2 separate regions of the Homo sapiens genome follow, and region 1 is linked to region 2. Evidence: promoter capture Hi-C in human tissues and cell types (Jung and others, 2019). All regions are on one chromosome and are shown on one strand. The core of a region is centred on a gene start or on the middle of the fragment in contact, and the rest is flanking DNA. Distances in the headings are between cores, read along the strand shown. Region 1 has its middle 11 kb from the start of PTPN2. Region 2 holds the start of TUBB6 (tubulin beta 6 class V).

The links. The method cuts DNA at HindIII sites, captures the fragments that hold promoters and counts their contacts. A contact is called where the count stands out against the background at its distance.
Region 1: a fragment that was not itself captured here is called in contact with the fragment with the promoter of TUBB6 in region 2 in 2 of the 25 tissues and cell types used here (aorta and bladder).

The regions. Positions count from the first base shown.
Region 1 is chr18:12,892,202-12,897,977 of GRCh38, forward strand. No RefSeq gene overlaps it. Among named protein-coding and RNA genes, the nearest start is that of PTPN2, 11 kb to the left of the region's middle. The HindIII fragment of the contact is 5,179 bases long and covers 1-4,029 here.
Region 2 is chr18:12,306,941-12,312,134 of GRCh38, forward strand. It overlaps TUBB6 (tubulin beta 6 class V), which reads left to right and starts at 1,301. Exons shown (of 4, transcript NM_032525.3): 1 at 1,301-1,409; 2 at 1,747-1,855; 3 at 4,003-4,113. The coding sequence starts at 1,353. RefSeq lists silencers at 787-1,276, 1,367-1,466, 1,487-1,836. The HindIII fragment of the contact is 9,027 bases long and covers 1-4,976 here.

The DNA of each region.
Region 1 (5,776 bases), core at 190-2,689, 590 kb after region 2:
TTTTTGTTAAGACAGATTTGAGAGATCTTGCCCTCCTGCCCTCTTGCCTTGGTCAAATTGAATAAACCTTTCTCTATCTCCAAGCACCAGTGTCTCAGTGTTTGGCCCCAGCTGCTCATGGGGTACACAGGTCTGAGTTTGGGGTTCTACAATAGAAGTACAGTCCTAGCAAATCAAGCTGCATTGAACCATTCCAGAGGACAAAGGGTGGCATAAAAATCTGTTGGAAGAGAAGTTACCAGAGAGTGACAGATATATACTTTACCACGTTGTTAAGATAAATATCACAATTTTGCCTTGATTAGTCTTGGAAGAAAGAATAAATAATGGATAAAGGAAGATGAAAACTAGGTGACTTTGATCAGTATTCTAAAAATGATTCATGTGTCTTTTGTTGTTGTTTTAGAGACAGGATCTCATTCTGTCTCCCAGGCTGGGGTACAATGGTGCGATCATAGCTTACTGCAGACTCCAACTCTTGGGCTCAAGAGAGCCTCCCATCTCAGCCTCCAGAGCTGGGACTACAGGCATGTACCACGCCCGGCTAATTTTTAAATTTCTTTTGTAGAGATGGAGTCTCACTATGTTGCCCAGGCCAGTCTCAAATTCCTGGCTTCAAGTGATCCTCCTGCCTTGGCCTCCCAAAGCATTGGGATTACAGGTATGCGCCACCATGCCAGTCCCTAAAATGATTAGTTCTTGAGTACTTTGTTAGAACCATATTCCTTTGTATGTGTTAGATGGTTCTCAAGTCTCCTTAATTCTTGAAATCTAGAGCTTTTTATTTATTTTGATAATTTTGAGTCTGCATCCATCAGTGTCCCAGAGGATGTACAGTTGTGAAACCGTTGGCACACTAAGAAAGGTAATTAAAGAGAGTTTAAGGACAGAATGATTTACAGAGTTGTGGACAAGATTAGAAGAAATCTAAACACTCAGGGCTAAACACTCAGGGTTAACAACTGTGTGGAAATTCTACCAATCCATGGGTCTGAAGGTGCAGGGGACAGGAGCAGTTACCAAAACCCAGAGAGAGGGCAGGAGAGGGCTATCAGATGGGCAATGTGGCTTTCTGTGAAGGAGCACAGCCACAGCAGGCCCATGGCTTTGGCAGGAACACACACTGTATTCCTTTCCTACTGCTGCTGTGACAAATGACCCCAAGGAGTCCAGGGGCCCTGGCTCATATTCAACTAGTATGAGGGCTCATAGAAGTGAAACAGTGTTGAAGCAATTAAAGCTTCTCCAGCTCAGCTTATCACATCTGAATTCAAGACCTTGTCTATAGGCCAGGCGTGGTGGCTCACGCCTGTAGTCCCGGCACTTTGGGAGGCCGAGGCGAGTGGATAACCTGAGGTCAGGAGTTCGAGACCAGCCTGGCTAACATAATGAAATCCCATCCTACTAAAAATACAAAAATTAGCCGGGCTTGGTGGTACGCCCCTGTAATCCCAGCTACCCGGGAGGTTGAGGCAGGAGAATCGCTTGAACCTGGGAGGCGGAGGTCGCAGTGAGCCGAGATTGTGCCACTGTACTTCAGCCTGGGCAACAAGAGCGAAACTCCATCTCAAAAAAAAACACAAAAAAACCTTGTCTATAAAACTGTCTTCTTTCCCTGTTTTCCCTATCACAGCTAATGGCATCACTTATTCAACCAAGCTACAAACCTGGAAGTCATCTTCAACATCTCTCTATCCTTTATCTTCTGTGTCTAATGGGTCGCTGGTTTCTGTTGCTTCTTGCCTCCCAAGAAATCTCTCAAATCAATGCTCTGCTCTCTGTCTCCCCCTGCTGCTGCCTTAATAAAGATTTCATCCTCTTCCTGTCTCCTGCTCTATCCTGATGCTCGACCTTGGGTACCACCATTGGGTACCAGTATGGTGCCTGATTATAGTAGATGAAAAGTCAATGTGGCCGGGCACGGTGGCTCACGCCTGTAATCCCAGCACTTTGGGAGGCCGAGGTGGGCGGATCCCGAGGTCAGGAGATTGAGACCATCCTGGCTAACGTAGTGAAATCCCGCCTCTACTAAAAATACAAAAAATTAGCTGGGCGTGGTGGTGGGCACCTGTATTCCCAGCTACTCGGGAGGCTGAGGCAGGAGAATGGCGTGAACCCAGGAGGCGGAGCTTGCAGTGAGCCGAGATCGCGCCACTGCACTCCAGCCTGGGTGACAGAGCAAGGCTCCGTCTCAAAAAAAAAGAAAAGAAAAGAAAAGTCAATGTGATTGCAAGAATAACAGTGAATCTTTGTTGGACGTTCTATTGTTTCCAAATTTCCTATTACATAAAAATGTTGTAATATCTTTTTCAGACATAACTCGTCCCTTTTTTTTTTTTTTTTTTTTGATGGAGTTTCGCTCTTGTTGCCCAGGCTGGAGTGCAATGGTGCGATCTCGGCTCACCACAACCCTAGTCTCCCAGGTTCAAACGATTCTCCTGCTTCTGTCTCCTGAGTAGCTGGGGTTACAGGCATGCGCCACCACATCCGGCTAACTTTGTATTTTTAGTAGAGACGGGGTTTCTCCATGTTGGTCAGGCTGGTCTCGAACTCCCGACCTCAGGTGATCCGCCCGCCTCATCCTCTGAAAGTGCTGGGATTACAGGCGTGAGCCACCGCGCCCGGCCCACCTCTCTTCTTTTGAAGGACTTTTCCTTTGGATAAATACCCAGAAGTGTAATTATTGGTCCAAAAGTTTATTAGTTATCTCCATTTGGATTTGTCTAGAAGCAAACCCTGAGATGGAGATTTGAGTCCATTTGAGATTTGAGATGGAGTCTTACATGGGAGGTGATGCCGGGAAACACTAGTAAGGGAGAAGGGAAGGGAAACAGGGAAAAGAAGAAAGCGTGTTTATTAACAACCAGTTAGCACTGTGGGCAACAAGAGGACTTCCAGCCTGCTGGGAAACTCTGGGGGGTGGGGGGCAGTAAAGAACATACTGTCAAAGTTTCCAGACCAAAGGGCAAGGAAACTCAGTTTTAACCACTAACTCCCCACCTGTCATGGTTTGAAGACTGTTTCTAGAGCTACTTAGCTCTCTGCCACTCCTACTTTGCCCTGTATGTAAGCTGAGCTTGTTTCCATGGCCAGAAAAAAAAAATTAAAGCAGAAAATAGCCTCTGGATGTAGAAGTACATGCTGAAGGTATGTGGGAAAGGTGCTTAAAGCACCTGCTGCTATTTTTTTTTTTTTTTTTTTTGAGACAGGGTCTTGCTCTGTCACCTCTGCGGAGTGCAGTGGTACAATCTCAGCTCACTGAAACCTCTACCTCTTAGGCTCAAGCAATCCTCCCACCTCAGCCCCCTGAGTAGCTGGAACCACAGGCGTGTGCCACCATGCCCAGTTAATTTTTGTATTTTTTGTAGAGAGGGGATCTTGCCGTGTTGCCCAGGCTGTTCTTGAACTCCTGGACTCAAGTCATCCACCTGCCTTGACCTCCCACAGTGCTGGGATTACAGGTGTGAGCCACTGTGCCCAGCCAGATATTTTTATAGCTTTTGAAATCCACTGTTAAATTGCTGTATGAAAGAATAGAATCAATGTAATGCTATAGGCAGCGATTTAGAACTATATGTTTGCCCACATCCCTATGAACCCTCCCAACTTGGCCTCCTGGAGTGCTGGAATTAAAGGCATGAGCCACCGTGCTTGGCCTGGTTCCTTTTTATCCACAACTACTTCCCACTTCTTACTATTTTATGCTTATGTGCATATCAGGCTGCTTCTGAAATGAAATACTATTATGTTAATAAAAAACACAAAAGAATTGATATTGTTGCAAAAACATACTTTCTCCCAGGTGAAACAGAGTCCAGACAGTTTTAATTAACATTTCTTTGACTAGAAAAATTTACATGAAGTATATTGTATATTCTTGTTATGAGGAGACACATTCAAATCCCTGAATCTTAATTAGTTCATAGCCATATGAATGATCATCTCTGAGCACCTTTCACTTTCCGCTCTGGGGCTTCTCTGATGCTGTGACTTGCAACACCTAAACGAACACACAATTCACTGAAACATTCTTAACTCAGATGTGCAGAGGAGTTAGCACCAGTGGCACCACTCTTTTTTTTTTTTTTTTCTGTGCACATCCACCTTTAATAGCTTCTTCCGTCACTCTTTAGATCCAATTACTAAAGTCTTATTGAATCCAAAATAGATCACATCATTTACCTGTAAAGAGGAAAAATACCCTAAAAACATTTGTGGAAAAGGTTAAAAATTGTAAGCCATACTAACGATTTGTAAGAACTTTAGAATTTTTTTTTTTTTAAGCAAAGGCAGCTACCAAAGTGTTCTGGGCGGGGTGGGGGGGGGGGCGAGGGAGGTGAGTATGAGTGGAGTTGGACCCTTATAAAGGGACAGCGACAAACACCTCATACTCAAAACAAGGGGACTTCCCCTGTCATTTGCGCCGTCGGGCCACTGCAAATGTCCGTGCTGAGATGCCTACGTTGTCACTCGACACAGCCGCCAAAGCTCACCCGGAGCTGCGTCAGTCCCCACTGGGTTCCTCCAGGCCAAGGAGGTACGACCTCCGCCGCAGCATATAAAGTAAATGTCCAGGACATGGGAAGAAACCCGCCGATACAGCACCCGGGTGCCCAAGCCCCCGAGAACTAGGCCGCGCGGGTACTACGGGGCCAGAAAGCCCGGGCCAGGGCGGGCCCACGAGCGAGCACCGTCGGGAACAAACCGGGAGAAAGAGGAAGAGCCGGCGCCAAAGGTATCCCGCCCACCGCGGTCCCCCCAGAACTCTTCCTGCGCTTGCAAGCGCCACGCTGCCCACAGGACTGCGCCAGCCGGCCGGCGCCTCAACAGAGCGCGCCAGGGAGCAGCGCCCGTCGGGAGCCAAGACGCCTGAGCCATCGAGGCCGCCGCCGGGCCAGGTCGAGGCCGCCGCCGCCGCCGCCGCCGCCGCCGCCGCGGCACCACTCTTAACCGATGTTGATTTCCCCTTTCACACCCCAGGAAGGCAATTATTTGATTTTTTTTTGTTTTGCTTTTGTTTTGTTTTGTTTTGAAACAAGGTCTTGCTCTGTTGCCCAGGCTGGAGGGCAATGGTGTGATCATGGCTCACTGCAGCCTTGACCTCCCGGGCTCAAGTGATCCTCCCACCTCAGCCTCCTGAGTTGCTGGGACTAGGTGCATGCCAACATGTCCAGCTAATTAAAAAAAAGTTTTTTTGTAGAGATAAGGTCTCACTATATTGCCCAGGCTGGTCTTGAACTCCTGAACTCAAGGGATCTTCCTGCCTCAGCCTCCCAAAGTGCTGGGATTATAAATGTGAGCCACTGCACCGAGCCTCCAGGTGGCCGATTCTCGGATGCATTTCTCATGGCTCCTTAGAAAGTCCCAGTGGGGGCCGGGCGTGGTGACTCATGCCTGTAATCCCAGCACTTTGGGAGGTCAAGGCGGGTGGATCACCTAAGATCAGGACTTTGAGGCCAGCTTGACCAACATGGTGAAACCCCATCTCTACTAAAAATACAAAAATTAGCTGGGTGTGGTGTCAGGCACCTGTAATCCCAGCTACTTAGGAGGCTGAGGCAGAAGAATCTCTTGAACCCAGGAGGCGAAGGTTGCAGTGAGCCAAGATCGTGCCATTGCACTCCAGCCTGGGTGACAGAGTGAGTCTCTGTCTTAAAAAGAAAAAGAGAGAGAGAGACAGACAGACAGAGAGAGAGAGAGAGAGACAGAGAGAGAGAGAGAGAGAGAGAGAAAGAAAGAGAGAAAGAAAGAAAGAAAAGAAAGAAAGAAAGAAAGA
Region 2 (5,194 bases), core at 51-2,550:
GGAGCGCAGGGGCTGGGCTGTGGCCTCCTCATCTGCTCCCTGGGCGTGTGGCTGTGTAAAGAGGTGTGGGGACCCACAAGAAGGCCGAGGAGCAGCACTGGGGTGGAGAGAGCAGTGGGGAGGCGGGGACCCAAGGGTTAAAAAAAAAAATTCCTCAATTTGGAAACATTTGCAAAACTCCAGAAGAAAAACTTTTAAAAGTTCTCCACTCCCTTCCAAACGTACAAACATGCACACACACAATTAGGAATTTCCCAAAGTTTTCATCTGTCTAAAAAGAAAGTGCCAGTGCAAATTACAGAACATCGTCGCTTCCTCATGTGCGGCGTTTCTACGGGCCTGGGAGGGGACGCAGAGGCTACCCCGGTGGTCCCAGCCTGCAGCGTTCACGTGAGGAAACTTCCGCAAAAGCCCTGATGCATGCACATTCTGACTGCAGAGGCCAGAGCATCCCGCATTTTGGAGGCTGAAAGGCTCCCCTAGGATAACCTTTTCCGTTAACAGAGGAGTCCGCTGAAGCGCAGAGCTAACTGAAAACAGCTAGAATTAAAATCCAAGTCACCCGGCCGGCATCAGCAGTCATTCCTTTCCACCACACAAAACTGGCCAGGAAGACGGACTCTGGCGCGCCCTCCCAGGCCGAAGCGCATTTCTTCGCTAACGCGCGAGGAGTAGGCTGCATAGACCCGGCGCAGGAGGTGTTCATTTTCGGATCCAGCCCTGTAGTCACTTTAGCTAAACCCGGTTCCAAAGGGGTGGGAGTCGTCGGAGAGGAATGGCCTCTGTATCTCCGGAGACGGAAACACCAGGACGAAGAGGCCCTAAGAACGTGTGCCCGGGGTGCGACCGGGGGGTGGGGGGCAGGGGGCAGAGACCCTGAAAAGCTCCACCGCCGAACCCCAGGGCAGTGTCCCGGCTTGGCTGGACTGGGCGCGGGCGGCTGCAATGCTCCCGGGCGCGGCGCTGGGACCCCGCGGGCCACGTCGGCTCCGCTGCCCCGACGCCAGGGCCCGACTCGCGTCTCCCTCTGGCGGGGCACCACAAGGGGCAGCGAAACGGTGGTGGGGGCGGGCGCCGCGCTCCTTCCCGTCTCCTCCCCGCCAGCTCCGGGCCCGTCCTTTTCCGCCCGGCTCCCGGCAAGGGTCCCCCGACTGGCGCCCGCGCGTCCTCCCTCGGCTGCTGCAGGCCGGGCCGCGGCGTCGAGCGGGGGCGGCGGGGCGGGGCCCGCAGCCATTGGCGAGCGGCGGGGCGGGGGCGGGGGCGCGGAGGGTCGGCCCCGGGACGCGCGCAGCCGGCCCGCAGTTGCCGCTGTCGTCCGCAGAGCCAGTTCCTAGCGCAGAGCCGCGCCCGCCATGAGGGAGATCGTGCACATCCAGGCGGGCCAGTGCGGGAACCAGATCGGCACCAAGGTGGGCCTGGCGCGGTGCAGGGCCTCTCCGCGGGTCGGCTGCTGGCGGGCCCCGGGTCTCCCGGCGCGACCCCCGCCGGGGCGCGCACCCGCTGTGCGCCCCTGGGTCCTCGGAGCCCGGTGCGGACCCGCGAGGGCCGCAGGGAGGGAGCGCCCGGGGCGTGGCCGGCCGGGGACCTTCTACTCTTCGCTCCCCACCCCCATCCCAACTGGGAGCGGCTGCCGGCGGCTCAGGCGCGCCTGGAATTCGGCCGCCGGGGCGCCTGGGGTGGGCGCGGGTGGCGGCGTCCCGGGCTCTGGGTTCTGAGCGTCTGTCCCCCCGCCTTGCCCTGCCCAAGTTTTGGGAAGTGATCAGCGATGAGCACGGCATCGACCCGGCCGGAGGCTACGTGGGAGACTCGGCGCTGCAGCTGGAGAGAATCAACGTCTACTACAATGAGTCATCGTGTGAGTAGCAAGGCCGCCGCGCCCTGCCCGGCCGGGACCCGCGTGGACGCTCCGGCGCCGCCTCTTAGCGCGGCGAGTTTGCTTCGGGAAAAGTTCTCTCGGGGTGTAGCAGGATGCCCGGCCACTCCCTTCGCTCCTCCGGGGCGGGAAATCCGCCGTCAGTTTATTCAAACAGCTCGATTCAGCCTATCCTGAGGGTCTGAGCGCTTGAACGGGACCACCCGTTAGCGTTGTGAAATCAACGTAGCGGTTCCTGCCCAGCCTTCTCTGTCTAGCCGGGCGCGGTGGCTCAAGCCTCTAATCCCAGCGCTTTGGGAGGCCGAGACTGGAGGATCATTTGGGGCCAGGAGTTCAGGACCAGCCTGGGCAGCATAGGAGACCACCCCCCGCCCCCCTCCCGCCCCGATCTCTACAACAATTTTAAAATTAGCCGGGCTTGGTGGCCCACCCCTGTAGTACCAGTTAACTGAGGGCTTGAGCTCAGGAGGTCGAGGCTGCAGTGAGCTGTGATCGCGCCACTGCACTCCAGCCTGGGTGACAGAGCGAGACCCTGTTAGAATAAATTAGAGCGTTTCTCAAGGATCCTTGGGAAAAACAAAGCTTCCCCCCCCCCCCCCCCAGTTTAAAACGTATCTCTTATTGGGGATTCTTGGCTAAAAATTTGAGAAACGCTCTCTTAAGTGACTTTTCTGGTCCCTTGCAGACCTCTAAAAAGACTTTAACCTCCCTGGAAGCTGAAACTCCAGGCAGTTCTCAGCAACGAGTGGAGTTTTATTCATTTACGCAGCAATGACAAAAGGCTGGGAACATCAGGGCATGGAAGATGAAATTTCTAGAGGACACTAAGGATAGTTCCAGTATACACTGCACTTCATGTTAATCCCTCACCCAGCTTGGGTACATCCATTTTCGATCTTGGCGAGTGCACTGCAGGACAGGAGTTGAAGAGCAGGTCCTATCTGGAATCATATTAACCGTGTCCTCACCGGGAACAAGTTCTAGCCCAATTGGCATGAAATTTCCACACAAGAACACTCTGACTCAAAATGAGAGTGACTCTGGGGAAACAGCCAGTGGCGTGCTCCGGGTAACAAGGTTCTCAGACTGCACATGGGCACATGTATGTGTATGCATGGGGGAGGTGTCACAAAGCAGAGAATTTCATCCAAACCTGGCAATTTGCTGTAAATACCTAGTTTATTTCCATGGAGCTAAAGTTGTAAAACTTCCTAACAGGAAAGAGGTGTCAGGGTGAGCTGGAAAATACAGTAGGCAGGAAGTCAGGGGACTTGATTTCTCATCCTGCCTCTTCCTGGAACCTCCTCTGCCAGGTCATGCCTGGACTCGTTCCTCATTCCAGTGTTAAGGTTCTAGGATTTTTTTTCTTTCTTTTTTTTAAGAGACAGGGTTTCGGCCAGGCACGGTGGCTCACCCCTGTAATCCCAGCACTTTGGGAGGCCGAGGTGGGCAGATCACAAGGTCAGGAGATCGAGACCATCCTGGCTAACACGGTGAAACCCCATCTCTACTGAAAATACAAAAAAAATTAGCCGGGCGTGGTGGTGGGCACCTGTGGTCCCAGCTACTTGGGAGGCTGAGGCAGGAGAATGGCATGAACCCAGGAGGCGGAGCTTGCAGTGAGCCGAGATCACACCACTGCATTCCAGCCTGGGCAACAGAGCGAGACTCCATCGCAAAAAAAAAAAAAAAAAGACAAGGTCTCACTCTGGAGTACAGTGGCATAACCATGGCTCACTGCAGTCTTGACCTCCTGGGTTCAGATGATCCTGCCACCTCAGCTTCCAGAGTAGCTAGGACTAGAGGTGCACACTACCACACTTAGCTAATTTTCTTGGTTTTTTGTTTGTTTGTTTTTAGAAACAGGGTTTTGCTCTGTTGCCCAGGCTGGTCTTGAACTCCTGGGCTCAAGCGATCTGCCCACCTCAGCCTCCCAATGTGCTGAGATTACAGGGATGAGCCAGTGCGCCCAGCCAATTCTGTGATTCTAAGAAAGTTCCTGTACCCTTTCTGAAAAGACCCTGGTTGATCCATTCCAGGCAGCTAGAACTGGTGGGACTTGAAACGGGGAAGTCAATTACTTTAGAAACCTGAAAGTAACTCTTGTGGGTGGTTCTTTTCTCCTCCAGCTCAGAAATATGTGCCCAGGGCCGCCCTGGTGGACTTAGAGCCAGGCACCATGGACAGCGTGCGGTCTGGGCCTTTTGGGCAGCTTTTCCGGCCTGACAACTTCATCTTTGGTAGGTTCCATCTTTCTCACTTTCTTCTTCTTCTTTTATTTTTTTAAATCAAATATTTTATATGCCAGATTTAAAGCATCATGTGTCATAGAAAAAGTGTGAATGGAAATCAGTGGTTCCCAGCCCCACCCCTCCCATCCCTAGCTGGGTTCATCACAAGGAACAGTTTTTTTTAAATCTTGACTTTTTTGGTGGGAAGGAACCTCTATATCTCTAAATGAAATTCTTCTACTGGTAGTTCTTGATTAAAAAACAAAAATCAAGCCAGGCGCGGTGGCTCATGCCTGTAATCCCACCACTTTGGGAGGCCAAGACGAGCGGATCACGAGGTCAGGAGATCAAGACCATCCTGGCTGACACGGTGAAACCCTGTCTCTACTAAAAATACAAAAAATTAGCCGGGCATGGTGGCACGTGCCTGTAGTCCCAGCTACTCGGGAGGCTGAGGCAGGAGAATCGCTGGAACCCGGGAGGTAGAGGTTGCAGTGAGCTGAGATTGCACTACTGCACTCCAACCTGGGTGACAGAGCGAGACTCCATCTCAAAAATAGCAAAAAACAAAAAAACAAAAACCAAGAAACAATTTTAGACATTAGCTTCTTTTTCCCCATCATTATAAAGTTATTTTGCCATTTGTTTTTGGTTCCTATATTGGTTTTATCAGAATTAGGTAAATCCTTTTTTTCTTGCTTCTTCCACCTAAAAAATGATAGTAAAACATATCTTTCTGCAGACTTCTGAAGAAAATTATATAAAATTACATGAAGTGGTACCATTAGTGTTATCAAGTAGAACCTACAGGATAGGTGGCAGATTTGGAAGTTTCCCACCTATTTTAATGTTAGAGACCACATATCTATTGACATTATTGCTAAAAAAAAAAATTCCTCACTCAATCAAACATATTTCCAATACCTGTGAAAAGCAGTGTCTTCCAAGAAAATGTGAAGAATTTGAAGACTGATTCTGGCTTAAAAGCACTATGGTGTAGGAATCAAATACATCATGAAAAATCTACATTCTAACCCCTTTCTCAAAAGGCACCAGGAAGAGATAGTTTAATAGAGGGTAACAGACAATC